Linked DNA regions of Homo sapiens: regions 1, 2 and 3 are each linked to region 4. Evidence: promoter capture Hi-C in 16 types of primary human blood cells and fetal thymus (Javierre and others, 2016). All regions are on one chromosome and are shown on one strand. The core of a region is centred on a gene start or on the middle of the fragment in contact, and the rest is flanking DNA. Distances in the headings are between cores, read along the strand shown. Region 1 overlaps NUP88 (nucleoporin 88). Region 2 overlaps ARRB2 (arrestin beta 2). Region 3 has its middle 10 kb from the start of GGT6. Region 4 holds the start of INCA1 (inhibitor of CDK, cyclin A1 interacting protein 1).

Evidence for each region. The method cuts DNA at HindIII sites, captures the fragments that hold promoters and counts their contacts. A CHiCAGO score of 5 or more calls a contact.
Region 1: a fragment that was not itself captured here is called in contact with the fragment with the promoter of INCA1 in region 4 in 1 of 17 cell types (naive B cells); the score reaches 5.2 in naive B cells.
Region 2: a fragment that was not itself captured here is called in contact with the fragment with the promoter of INCA1 in region 4 in 3 of 17 cell types (neutrophils, erythroblasts and M0 macrophages); the score reaches 5.6 in neutrophils.
Region 3: a fragment that was not itself captured here is called in contact with the fragment with the promoter of INCA1 in region 4 in 1 of 17 cell types (neutrophils); the score reaches 6.6 in neutrophils.

The regions. Positions count from the first base shown.
Region 1 is chr17:5,406,197-5,409,424 of GRCh38, reverse strand. NUP88 (nucleoporin 88) reads left to right here. Exons shown (of 17, transcript NM_002532.6): 5 at 516-692. Among named protein-coding and RNA genes, the nearest start is that of NUP88, 12 kb to the left of the region's middle. The HindIII fragment of the contact is 236 bases long and covers 1,292-1,527 here.
Region 2 is chr17:4,720,614-4,723,676 of GRCh38, reverse strand. ARRB2 (arrestin beta 2) reads right to left here. Exons shown (of 15, transcript NM_004313.4): 14 at 3,037-3,063; 15 at 2,180-2,731. The coding sequence ends at 2,638. Among named protein-coding and RNA genes, the nearest start is that of MED11, 9.3 kb to the left of the region's middle. The HindIII fragment of the contact is 1,837 bases long and covers 687-2,523 here.
Region 3 is chr17:4,569,615-4,572,513 of GRCh38, reverse strand. It overlaps the pseudogene TXNP4. Among named protein-coding and RNA genes, the nearest start is that of GGT6, 10 kb to the right of the region's middle. The HindIII fragment of the contact is 2,474 bases long and covers 24-2,497 here.
Region 4 is chr17:4,996,272-4,999,536 of GRCh38, reverse strand. It overlaps INCA1 (inhibitor of CDK, cyclin A1 interacting protein 1), which reads left to right and starts at 2,015. Exons shown (of 7, transcript NM_001394789.1): 1 at 2,015-2,041. It overlaps KIF1C (kinesin family member 1C), which reads right to left and starts at 1,587. Exons shown (of 23, transcript NM_006612.6): 1 at 1,381-1,587. RefSeq lists silencers at 1,125-1,224, 1,275-2,144, 2,185-2,274. The HindIII fragment of the contact is 6,815 bases long and covers 1,429-3,265 here.

The DNA of each region.
Region 1 (3,228 bases), core at 160-2,659, 410 kb before region 4:
CAGCTTTTTTCACTTAATTTCATGAGAATTTTTTTTTTTTTTTTTTTTTTGAGACGGAGTTTCGCTCTTGTCGCCCAGGCTGGAGTGCAATGGCACAATCTCGGCTCACTGCAACCTCCGCCTCCCAGGTTCAAGCAATTCTCCTGCCTTAGCCTCCCAAGTAGCTGGGACTACAGGCACCTGCCACCACGCCCAACTAATTTTTGTATTTTTAGTAGAAACGGGGTTTCACCATGTTGGCCAGGCTGGTCTCGAACTCCTGACCTCAGGTGATCCACCCACCTCGGCCTCCCAAATTGCTGGGATTACAGGCATGAGCCACTGCACCCAGCTGAGAATTTTTAAATGTTAACATTCTTCATAATCATTTTTTGTCTTTTCAGTCCATTGCCTACAAATTCCATACATACCCACCTCCTGTTATTAGACATTTTGTGTTTTTGTTTTGTTTTGTTTTTCTTTTTACTTTTTGTTGTTTTTGTTTTTAACAAGTTGGTTTTTACATCTCTTTCCAGAAGGGCGTATACCGCATCTCTAGGAGAGACAGCAGTTGCATTTGACTTTGGGCCATTGGCAGCAGTCCCAAAGACTCTATTTGGACAAAACGGCAAAGATGAAGTAGTGGCATACCCACTGTACATCTTATATGAAAATGGAGAGACTTTCCTGACATACATCAGTCTGTTACACAGGTAAGTTGAGGTGGTCACCCACCTGAAATGAAAACTCAGTTTGGGCTCCAGTAGATATCATTGAGGCTGGACTTGGGAGCCATGTTTTTGAGTCTGTGGAAATGTTGCAGCCTTCACATGCTTGGCTTGCATATTTTTGAGAAAGAGTTAGTACAGGTCATTTGGCCTTTCATTTCTTCATATTATTTGGGTAAGTTCTATAGAATTCTTGGATAATCACTTATGATAGGCCTGGATTTGTGTTCACAAATTCTAGTTATCCGAACAAGTGCTTATTGTTTATCTTATATGAACAAGACACCACGTAGGCGTGGTAATCTGGTATCTTATGTCCCAGTTGTGGGGAGAAAGATACATACACATGAAAAAATACTATCCATACCACAGTATTGGTACACAGACAGTAAGAACCCCGAGGAAGGAGAGATCATTCTGACTGGGAGGTTAAGGAAATTTTCGTAGAGAAGGAGTGGTGTCATGTGTGACTTAAAGGTCTCATTCAGGATTAAATGAAGTATCAAGGAAGAGTGAGACCATTTCTGTCAAGGGCAGCATAAAGTAGCGTCTGAAAATAAGCAAGTGCAAGTGTCATTCAAGCTTAATTTATTAGACATTCTGGGCTAGAGCTGAGGATTCATGTAGGGAGCATTAAGTGATAAAGCTGGAGTATCTGTCCCGAGAAAATTTGCTGGAATTAAAAATACCTCGTTAAAAGAGTGAGTGTGGGTTTTTTTTCTGTAGGAATAGGGTAGTAGGAAGCCAGTGATGGTTTCTGAACAGAAGGACAAAACAATTGGTTAGGGAGGGGACTGGGACAGAGACTTTTAAAGAAGCTTTTGCAAAATTGAGCTTGTCATTTATGAGAGTTTGAACTTGGGTGGTAATAGAACAGAGGGAAAAATGAAACACAGTAGATAACAACAAAGGAAGGATAAATAAGACTTAGTTACTGTTTGGATAAGGGAGTATGCCATGAACAGAAACAGGTCAGTAAAGGCTGCTAATTGGGGGAGAAGATTTATTTCTAAGTAAATCAGTGTAAGATAGTATTGGACCAATAAAATGGAAATATTCCATGGACAGTTGGAAATACAGGATGATGACAGACAAGAAGAATTAAAATAGAGGTATGAGAATCATCTTTCATGGTGAGAGAGTCTATACAGGATAAGAATTTGAGGGAAAACTGCAGAGGCATAAGGCTAAGGGCTGAGCATTAGAGTTTATTCGCTTGTAAATCGACTTAACAGATACTTATTCAGGACCCACTCTGGCAGAAGATGGAAATACAAGATTGAAGGCAAGGTTCCTGCCATGTGGTTCCTTAACTACCAGAAGGGCATACAACTAAACCAGTAACTATAGTACAGTGTCATGTGCTCAGGGCATCACCGGGTTCTTCAGGAGTGTGATGGAGTAAATGAGTAGGCCTGCTCATCTTGGAAGACTTTAAGGAAATGCTATTACAAAAGCTTGAACTTGAAGGATTCACTAGACAGAATCAGAAGTGGGTACAGGAGAGAGAAGAGAGTACGCAAAACCATAAAGATTAGAAAGATGAAAGAGCTCGGTAGGTTACAGAATGGTGAGGATTCACTGTTGAGTGCATTCTCCTTGGCAGAAATGTTCTCTGCCTTTCACACATGATCTCAGGAGGATTTTGTGGTAACTTTAGTACCTTCCCTTACCCTTTCTCCTCTTGCTGCTGAGCCCTCATTTGTCCAAACCATGATCTGCCTAGTAACGTTAGCCCAAAACCCAAAAGTTTTCTTCATCCTTACATTTCATCAGTCCCAAATTTCTATTGATTTTGTGATTTAAATTTTTCGAAAGTATACACCAAGCTTGTCCAACCCACGGGCTGCGCGCAGCCCAGGACAGCCTTGAATGCAGCCCAACGCAAATTTGTAAACTTTCTTAGAACATTATGATATTTGTTTGCGATTTTCTTTTCTTTTCTTTTTTTTTTAAAGCTCATCACGTATTGTTAGTGTATTTTCTGTGTGGCCCAAAACAATTGTTCCAGTGTGGCCCAGGGAAGCCAAAAGATTGGACACCCCTGATTATACACCCTTCTCTGCATTCCTCTGTCCCTGCTTCAGAACTGCATCATCTGCCTACTTCACCATCTGCCTGGCTTATTTTCTTAAATAGTTTCCCCAAATCCCATTTTGGACCCTTCCATGTCTTCCTCCCTAATACCAGACTGATTTGTAAAGTGAGGCTCCATCGCTTGATTTAAACCTCTAGTGATATACTGTTACCCGGCAGATAGATTTCAAATAGTTTAACATAGCACACAAGACTGTGTACTTCATAAGCCAGTCCTGGATGTCTGTCTAGCTATTTTGCCGTTGCCTTCCACCTTGTACTTTGCCTCCCATCATACTAAATAAGTTTTCTTGTTCTTAGTTCTTTGTCTTTCATGTTTCCAGGACTTTGCATAAACTGATCTCTAGCTTGGAATGCTCAACAATCCCCTTCCCAGAAATCATTCTTTCTCATTTTTCTCATTTATTTTTTATAGCTTTCTTCA
Region 2 (3,063 bases), core at 356-2,855, 280 kb after region 4:
ACTCCATCTCAAAAAAAGATAATAATAAATAAGTTAATTAAATAAATAAAAAGGGCAGTTTCTCAAAGTGTGTACTAATTAAAAATCCGGATTTTTGGATTCTTCTTGGGACCTTGTGACTCAGAATCGGGAAAGGTGGAGCCCAACTCTGGATTTTTACCATGGCACCCCGAGGGTTCTGATTCTCCTGAAAAAAATTTGAGATCGGCCAGGCGCGGTGGCTCACGCCTGTAATCCCAGCACTTTGGGGGGCCAAGGTGGGCGGATCAGGAGGTCAGGAGTTCGAGACCAGCCTGGCCAGTATGGCGAAACCTTGTCTTTACTAAAAATACAAAAATTAGCCAGGCGTGGTGGCGTGTGCCTGTAGTCCCAGTTACTCGGGAAGCTGAGGCAGAAGAATTGCTTGAACCTGGGAGGCAGAGGTTGCAGTGAGCCAAGATAGCACCATTGCATTCCAGCCTGGGTGAGAAAGCAAGACTCCATCTCAAAAAAAAAAAAAAAAAAATTGAGATACCTGGGCTTAGAGGTCAAGGAGCAGGTGCACGGGAGTCGGAGGGATGCTGGAGATGGTATTAGGCGGGATGGTTCTTCCGTTCTTCCGCATGAGAAAGTCCAGGTTCTGCAGGGGAGGCTGCCGCCGTGGCGGGGTAAGCAAGGTCACGGGCCTTTTGGCAGTACTTAAAGCTTGTGGGTAAATGGCGATTTAACTAGAAGTCACGAGTCATAACATAGACTAAAGGCCTGTGCGAGCTGTCCCCATCTGGCTCAGCAGCCAGAAGGAACTACTTTGCCTCTGGCTGTCTCTGTCCCAGTCTCTCTGGCCTCTTTAGGTCCCAGATGTGTTGTTTCCTCCTGCCTTCACACGACACTGCCATTGCCCAGAATGCTCATCCCTGGACGGTCCCCGAACTCCCCTCATCTTTCACTTCTCTGCTTAAAGGTCACTTTCTCAGGGAAATCTTCCCCAAACCCAACCTAGCTCAGAACTCCCTGTCACGCGTTCTCCTGGCTCCAGTACTTCTCCTCTGAAGCAAAGATATTGTAGTTAAATAACTAGGGAGGCCTGGCGCGGTGGCTCACACCTGTAATCCCAGCACTTTGGGAGGCCGAGGCGGGTGGACCACTTGAGGTGAGGAGTTTGAGAACAGCCTGACCAACATGGCGAAACCCCATCTCCACTAAAAATACAAAAATTAGCCGGGAGTTGTGGCGGGCGCCTGTAATCCCAGCTACTCCGGAGGCTGAGGCAGGAGAATCACTTGTACCTGGGAGGCGGAGGTTACAGTGAGCCGAGATGGCACCATTGCACTCCAGCCTGGACGACAGAGCAAGACTCTGTCTCAAAAGAAAAAAAAAAAAAAGGGAATGAATTAATGTGTTTTTGTTGTTGTTGTTGTTGTTGTACTGCTATACTATGCCTGGTACTTTGTAGGGACTCAAATCCAGATTGTTTGTGGAATGCATGAAGGAGCTTTAGGAGAAAGATTGGGCTTCAGGAGTGGAAGCAGATGATGGAGGTGAGAAATGTTCGTGGAGTGATGCTACCTCCCTCCAGCCCAGCCTGGGGCTTCGGTCAAGCCTCAGGGAGTCCCTGATGAATATCCCATGAACAGCACTAAGATGTGGTCCCTAGGACAGGGGCCCACGGCAGCATGACGTTCTTGCTGCCCAAGCCTCAGCTTCTGTGTTAGAATGTAGGTACCAGACTCCAGAGACGTCACGTGGCTTGTCTGGTGAGGCCTGCGGTTGTGGCACCGCTGAGCCACAGGAGCAGATGGCTCGAGCAGCCATAAGGAGCAGTGGAAATGAACGCGACTCGGTCACAACAGGTCACAGGTGGTCATGTGCGTCGGCCGCAACAGGGAAGGGCCTGCCCTGGCTAGCTCCCGTGAGCATCTGTGTGCAGGCGAGTTAGTTTAGTTACTGTGACCTCTAGAAATGACTAAGTTCACTTTGTGGCCTTATCAAGCCTCACCCTTGAGTTTGGACTAAGTCAAGTTTTGATGTTTACCCTGGAACACAGCCACAGCACAGTCATCCAATAAACATTTGCTGATAGCCTCCGTGTCAGGTGGCTTTTGGGTGCAGAAGAGAGACTGGGTCCTCCCCCACAAGCTAACAGAATCATGGATAAGCACACCATACACTCTCTAAACACTACAGAGAAAACACACACTCATGCTTAGTAAAAGATTTATTTTCTTCTTTATGCTCAGAAACAAAGAAACGGCCTTGTCCCCAAAGGGTCTCCTCTTGAAGGAATGGGGGCAGAGAGAGTGATAATGGGAGGTGTTGGTGTGAGGTTGAGAGTAGGAGTTTTGTCTCCCCCTTTCCCTCCTGTCACTCCTCTTTTCACTGTCCCCTTCCAGAAAATTTAGGTATGAACACAGCTTGCCACCCACGGCGGGGCTGGAGAAGCAGAGCTGCAGTCAAAAAATTAATGCCCACATTCAGCAAGAGAGGGTCCAGTGTGTATCTTGGGGGGATGGGGGAGAGAGTGTGAAGGGATTGGTTGAAGAAGCTTCCAGGTGAGGGGAAGGGAAGAGGGGCTGGGACAATCCCCCATTGACAGTGGGGATCTTAATCCTGCCCTCACCTCTCCCAACCCCATCCCCTCCCTTCTTCCCACCCCGCTTCCTAGCAGAGTTGATCATCATAGTCGTCATCCTTCATCCCCTTCAGCCGAAGCCGGGCAAAGTCCTCAAACACAATGTCATCATCTGTGGCATAGCTTGGTGGTGGGAAAGAGGGTTGTGAGGTGAGGGCTTCTGACTCTTGTCCCAGCCTCCCACTCCCTGCCCTCCCCGAAGCTAGGCCTCTGGGACAGAGGCGTTCGAACAGCAGTGGGACCAGAGGTATTTACAGGAAGGGACAAAGAAAAGGCAGCAAGAGGCAGCCTCACAAGGCTAAGGCATCTTGATTTGATGCTACAATCCGCTTCTCCCCACCAAAAGCAAGGAAGAGGTATGAGGGCAGATTTGAATGTTATAGGAATCTTTGTCCCAAGAGGGTCAAGTAGGGGAATGAGTTTCTTACTTGGTATCAAATTCAATGAGGTTGGTG
Region 3 (2,899 bases), core at 11-2,510, 430 kb after region 4:
TTCATGAATGGTGGCTTCAAGCTTTTCCTTATGGGCTCCAGAAAATTCACCCACCTTTTGTCCCTTCTTAAAACACTGGAATGTTGGCATGCATTCGGCTTCACACTCTGAAGCAACATCCTGACAGTCATCCACATCTACTTCAAGGAATACCACGCTGGAATACTTTCCAGAGAGGGGATAAAGAAAGGCTTGATCATTTTGCAAGGCCCACACCACGTGGCCGAGAAGTCAACTATTACAAGTTTATCGCCTGTGGCATCCAAGGCTTCCTAAAAAGCAAGTTTGCTCTCGATCTCCTTCACCATCTTGGCTGCTGAGGTCTGAGGAGCGGCTTTTTTTTTTTTAATAGGGAACTGACCGTATTCATTTGTAGCCTGTTACCCCATAATTCTTTAGGATGTTCAAAGCTGGAGTGACCATATGCCCGTCCCTGTTCCTCTTGACACTCAGTGAGAGGCAGCCATCTGAGTAAGTGGAAGTGTGATATTCGCTCCGGGCATTATGTCATGAGCCTTAAATCCAGAATACACTGGATTGAGTCTTTCAGCCCAATAGTTTGCCGCCGTTGCCAGATTTGGGAGCATCCGAGGAGAGACCTCAAATCATAATGGGGTGGTGCAGGGCTCCCCCATACTCAAAAAACTTTCCGTGTGTTTTCCAGGCAAGTGTCTTTCTCCTCGAATACAACAATCTTGGTTACAACTGACAGTAGTGCAATAGATCGGTCAGTACACTGATCCAGGAACATCTTGATGGTATAGCATGTTGTCATTCGCACTCTACCAGCCACTAGTCTAACCTGGTCGAGTAGCTTTTTCCAGGGACTCAAATTCTCCATTATCAAAGCACAGACAAGTGGTCCGACCCACGGTCTCGAATTAAACCAGTTAGTCACCAGCCCTGCGTTGTCATTGAGTGACAGGTTGGCACCATCCCTGTGTGTTGGTCGTTGGAGAGACACCATCAGGGTCTTGAATCATTTTTGAGCCTAGAGACTATTAGCATGCATTTTGTCCCTCGACCCTGCTACTATGTTGCCCACCGGGTCACAACAGTGCTGAGGTACAGATGATATCTCGAAGGATGTGAATTCCAGGTCCTTCCCGTTGAGGATTTCGCCATACAGTGTTTTGATTTTGTTCTTTCCACTACTGGAATCATAAGATACAACTCCCTGGAGAGTCCTACAGATAAGAGATTCTCACGTTAACACCTCAGACAAAAAGCAGAGAAACACCTAACTTGCTGTGATGGGATGAGGTGTGATCAATGGGTTGGATCGAGCATCAATTTGGGTGCTCTAAATTTTCCACTTCCCCAGTGCCAGGATGTGGTTCATCTACATAGGTTGGGTACTGCCCAAATTTCCCACTTAGCTCAAAGGACTTCCGCCCAGGAAATGGTCATGCAGAGGGAGGCTTGGAACTATCCACGGGGTCCTCCATGGTGAACTATAGTGTTGGCTGCGGGAGCAATCGGTTCCTTTGTTGTCTTAATTGTGGTGTCAGTTGCTGGCAATATACACAAAAATTGGTGACTTTTACTTTATGTAAATTATACCTCAGCTGGGCGCGGTGGCTCATGCCTGTAATCCCAGCACTTTGGGAGGCTGAGGTGGGTGGATCACGAGGTCAGGAGCTCGAGACCAGCCTGGCCAATATGGTGAAACCCTGTCTCTACTAAAAATACAAAAATTAGCTGGGCTTGGCGGTGGGCGCCTGTAGTCCCAGCTACTTGTGAGGCTGAGGCAGGAGAATTGCTTGAACCCGGGAGGCGAAGGTTGCAGTGAGCCGAGATTGTGCCACTGCACTCCAGACTGGGTGACAGAGCAAGACCCCGTCTCAAAAAAAAAAAAAAATATATATATATATATATATATAAATACCTCAATAAATCGGATTTTTAAAATCCAAGTCCTGGAGCAGTGGCTATGCCTATAATCCCAGCATTTTGGGAGGCCGAAGTGGGAAGATTGCTCAAGCCTAGGAGTTCAAAACCAGCCTGGTGAACATGACAAGACCCCATCTCTACAAAAAAAAGTTTTTAAATTCAGTGCATGAGAGATGTGCTGGCTGATAGTGGTTTTGATCACATCTTGAAGAGAGTTGGCTGCACTGGAAACTGGTACCCCTAAAATCTCTTGTAGGAAAAGGATGTGTGATTGTTTCCTATGGACCAGATGTGAGCTATGAGGGAGGGAGAACCAGCATCAGGCCACATTAAAACCTGCCCAACCTTGAGCAAGAGTTATTTAAAAAAACAAAACAAAACAAAAAAAGAATAAAACCTGCCCAGGAACACCACCTGGAGAGAAAGATGCGGCCCCAGCAGCAAGAAACTGATGCCTGAGCTGCTTGTGAGCCAAGAAGAGTTCAGCTATACCCGGGGAATTGGAGGTGAGACCCCAATAATGGGGTCGGCTGGAGGTCTTGGAAGGACTTTAAAAAGTGTCCCAATAGATAAAAAGTCAGCTGTATACAAAGCCCAGGAAGCTTCTGTACCAGCTCGTACAATACAAAATCAGATCTTTCCTGCCCCTTTTTACCTCTTCCCCCGCCATGTCAACCCTGGGGGTACAAAAGCAGCCAAGTGAGTGAGGAGGAGAATCCCAGGGTGTAGGAGCAGGTGGGGGTTGGAGGGTACATTGAGAAGTTAATTAGAGTCTCTCCCTCTTCACCATACCCTTTCATACACACACACACACATACACACACACACACACAGCCTTTTCCTGTTGCATGCTACTTGCCCAAAACAGACTGAGAAGGTGCAAGGGAGAAGTTTTTAACTTTAAATGGACTTTTACATTTGGGGGAGGGGCTGTGGGGTGTTTTGGGTTTTTTTGGCTTATACTTTTTTTTTGCATTTTTTCATCATGATACAATATACATAACAC
Region 4 (3,265 bases), core at 766-3,265:
GTCACAGACACCAAGAAAATTAGAGAAATAAGACAAAAGGCAAGCCTGAGGTCATGCTATGAAGGAAAGAATGGGAGAGGAAAGGAGGAAGAGACACAGCACAGCAAACACACGGTGTTAAAGAGACAGGGTGGGGAACTCCGGCGCCAAAGCACAAACTGGGAGCCCAGAAGAGAGACCAGAGAGGAAACTGCAAATGCAAAACCTGTCCTCAAATTCCCCCACAGTGTCGGCAAGGGAGAATCTAGTTTCCACCTGAGGCCCACAACCTCCATGCACCAGGCCAGTAGTGCAGATGGGCAAAGTCCAAGGACTGTAGGTAGGGCCCAGGACTGGGATCCACAGGGCCAGCTGTGTGGGCTCTAAGCCCCTTGCCCAGCCCCCAGCACTTCCTCCTCAGGATCCGGGACAATGAGCAGGGGAGGGTGGGGTCATCCTGTAGCCATCAGACCAACCCTCAGGGCTCCACCCTTGGGGCGCCCAGAAATACCTGTGTTTGAGGGTAGAGGGTCCCTGGGGCCTCCCTAAAAGGGAGAAAGAAAAGGAAGCCGGCTGGCTGGTGCCAGCCCCAACCTGGGGCTAGTGCTATGGCGTCCACTGCCCTGGGGAAGGTGCCAGGCTGGAGCCCAGGAATGTGGGTGATCGGGTGCCCACACCCTGGGAGGAGAGGCTGAGCAGCCCACGCCCACGGACAACAGGGAGGAGGACCACGAAGGATAAGGGATGCGGAGCCCCCTCCTGTGGCCCCAGTGGACCCCAAACTCCTGTCACGCTGGGCCTCCCCTCACCAGTCTTCCTGGGCAGAGCATGGGAGGGTGAGGGGCTGGTCTGTCCCAGGACAGGAAGGGAGTAGCTGGAATCACAGAAGCTGGCTCAGGAAGAACAGCCCTGACCCCCTAGACCCTGACCAGGGGAGGGAAGGACACTGGTGGGGACAAGCGATGGTGACGCCGTTGCTGCAGCTAATGGGACAGGGATGGGGTGGCACGGCTGGGGGCCAGCGGGGTAAGGGAATAGAGGTAGGGACAGGGGTCGGCCGGTGCAGCTGTGAAGGAGCCGTGGGGTACAAGGAGGATACTGGGCGGCTGGGGTGGGGCCGACCGGCCCGAAAGGGGGTCTTGGGCCACCTGCACCTTGCCCACCCGGCGGTTCTCACACAGGTCCCCGCCCGGCCTCTCAGGGCGGCCATGCGGACCCGTCCTCCTGTCCAGCCAGCCGGCGGCCGCCCGGGCCTGGCACCTCTCTGCGCCTCCGCGGAACAAACAGCACATGATCCCGACTCTTGAGCCTAGATCGCGCCGCCGGACCCCGGCTCCCCGCCCCCCAACCCGGCACATTCCTCCGCGGGCGTCCCTTCCCTCCCCCTTCCCCAGCCCTCACCTCGGCGCGGCGGGGCTCCCGGAGCAGCTCGGCGGAGAGGGACAAGCTTTCCGGGAAGCGTGAGGCGGAAGCGGGAAGGATCTGGGGCCGGTTCGGAGCTGCCCCCGCCCCTCGCCGGGTGCCCGGGCGGCGGGCGGCGGACTCGCGCCCCGGGGGCGGCAGCAGTAGCGGCGCCAGCGGCCGGCGCCCGCCCGGGCAGCGCGAGCTGGGGCGGGAGCGAGGGGCGGGGGACGCGCGAGCGCGCGCGGAGGGGCGGGTACGCGCGGTCCCGGGAAGGAGCCGGGAGCGACCCGGGCTACTCTTGTTAAAGGGGCAACGCTCCTGGCCTGTGGGGCCCAGCGAGCGGGAACGTGGGGACCGAGCTGCGGACGCAGAAGGGCGAGCAGACGCCGCAACCCAGGAGGGTTGCAGACGCCTGAAGAACAGGGAAACGTCGGGGGCTGACCCGCGGGGGCACCCAGGCCCCGGCCCAGTTCCCGTCGCCGCCGTTGGAGGCGCGTCCAGGGGGCGGAGCCTCCTGCCGAGGCCCGCCCAGAAGGTGGCTCCGCTCAGGCCCCGCCCTCAGACGAGCACCGCCCGCCGGCTCCTCCCGCGGCTCGAATCGCCGTCTCTCTCCTCCCCGCCCCGCCGAGTTCTAGAATTCGCCGCGCAGCTGCTTCAGGTGCTGGGGCCAAATGCGGCCGGCCGTGGCGCGGCTACTCGGGCGCTCTGTCCCCGCCTGGCCCTCAAGTTCGGCCGCCCTGGACGCCGCCTGAGGCCCAAACAACCCCTTCAGGCCCGGGTGCCGCCTAAGGCCGGAGCTGCCCTCTCAGACCCGGGGCGTCCCTCAGGCCCCAGCCTGCCCTTCAGCCTGGGCCCACCACCTCAGGGCCCCTCTCGAGGGAAGCAGCCCCCAGTCGTGCCCTCGGGCGGGGCTGCCCGGAAGGTCCGGCCACGCCCGGTCCACCTGTCGAGGGTCCCCGTCGCCCTTTCAGGCGCAGGCCGCGCCCTCCGGCCCGGCGCTTCCCTCCAGCGGGGCTCCAGGCAGCCCCTCAGCCCCAGCCGGACCCTCGGGTCCTCATCCACCCTCGCAGGCGCAGGCCGTGGCTACCCCGAAGTCAACTGTGGAGGATCCTTCCTGGCTTCCTTCAGCTCCATCCTGCCCTTGGATCTAGGTCACCCGCTTGGACCCAACTATCTGAGGCCCGAATGCCCCGCAGCTCCCGCTGCTCCCTCGCGTTCTGCTGACCCCCCTCCGAGTCAGGACATCCCCTTTAGACCCCACTTTAGGCCCTTTCAGCCCAACTCCAACTAGCCCCATCTGCCGCTTCCGCACGGTATACTTCTCTCCGCTTTTGACCTCACCTGCTTTCCCAGCCCATCCCTAGTTCCCTTGGATAAATACTAGTTCACCTCTACAGTTCCAGCTGGCTGCTTCTGTCCTTCGGGAGCCTATGTGCACTCTCTCCTAACTTATCTAGTATTCTTTTTTTTTTTTTTTTTTTTTTTTTGAGACGGAGTCTTGCTCTGTTGCCCAGGCTGACCTCGGCTCACGGCAACCTCCGCCTCCTGGGTTCAAGCGATTCTCCTGCCTCAGCCTCCCGAATAGCTGGGATTACAGATGCCTGCCACCACACCCGGCTAATTTTTGTATTTTTAGTAGAGACTGGGTTTCGCTGTGTTGGCCAGGCTGGTCTCGAACTCCTGACCTCAAGTGATCCGCCCACCTCAGCCTCCCAAAGTGCTGGGATTACAGTCTTGAGCCACCGCGCCTGGCTTTTTTTTTTTTCTTCTTAGAAACAGGGTCTCACTCTGACGCCTAGGCTGGAGTGCAGTGCAGTGGTGCGATCTTACCTCACTGCAGCCTTGACCTCCCGGGCTCAGATGACACTCCCACCTCAGCCTT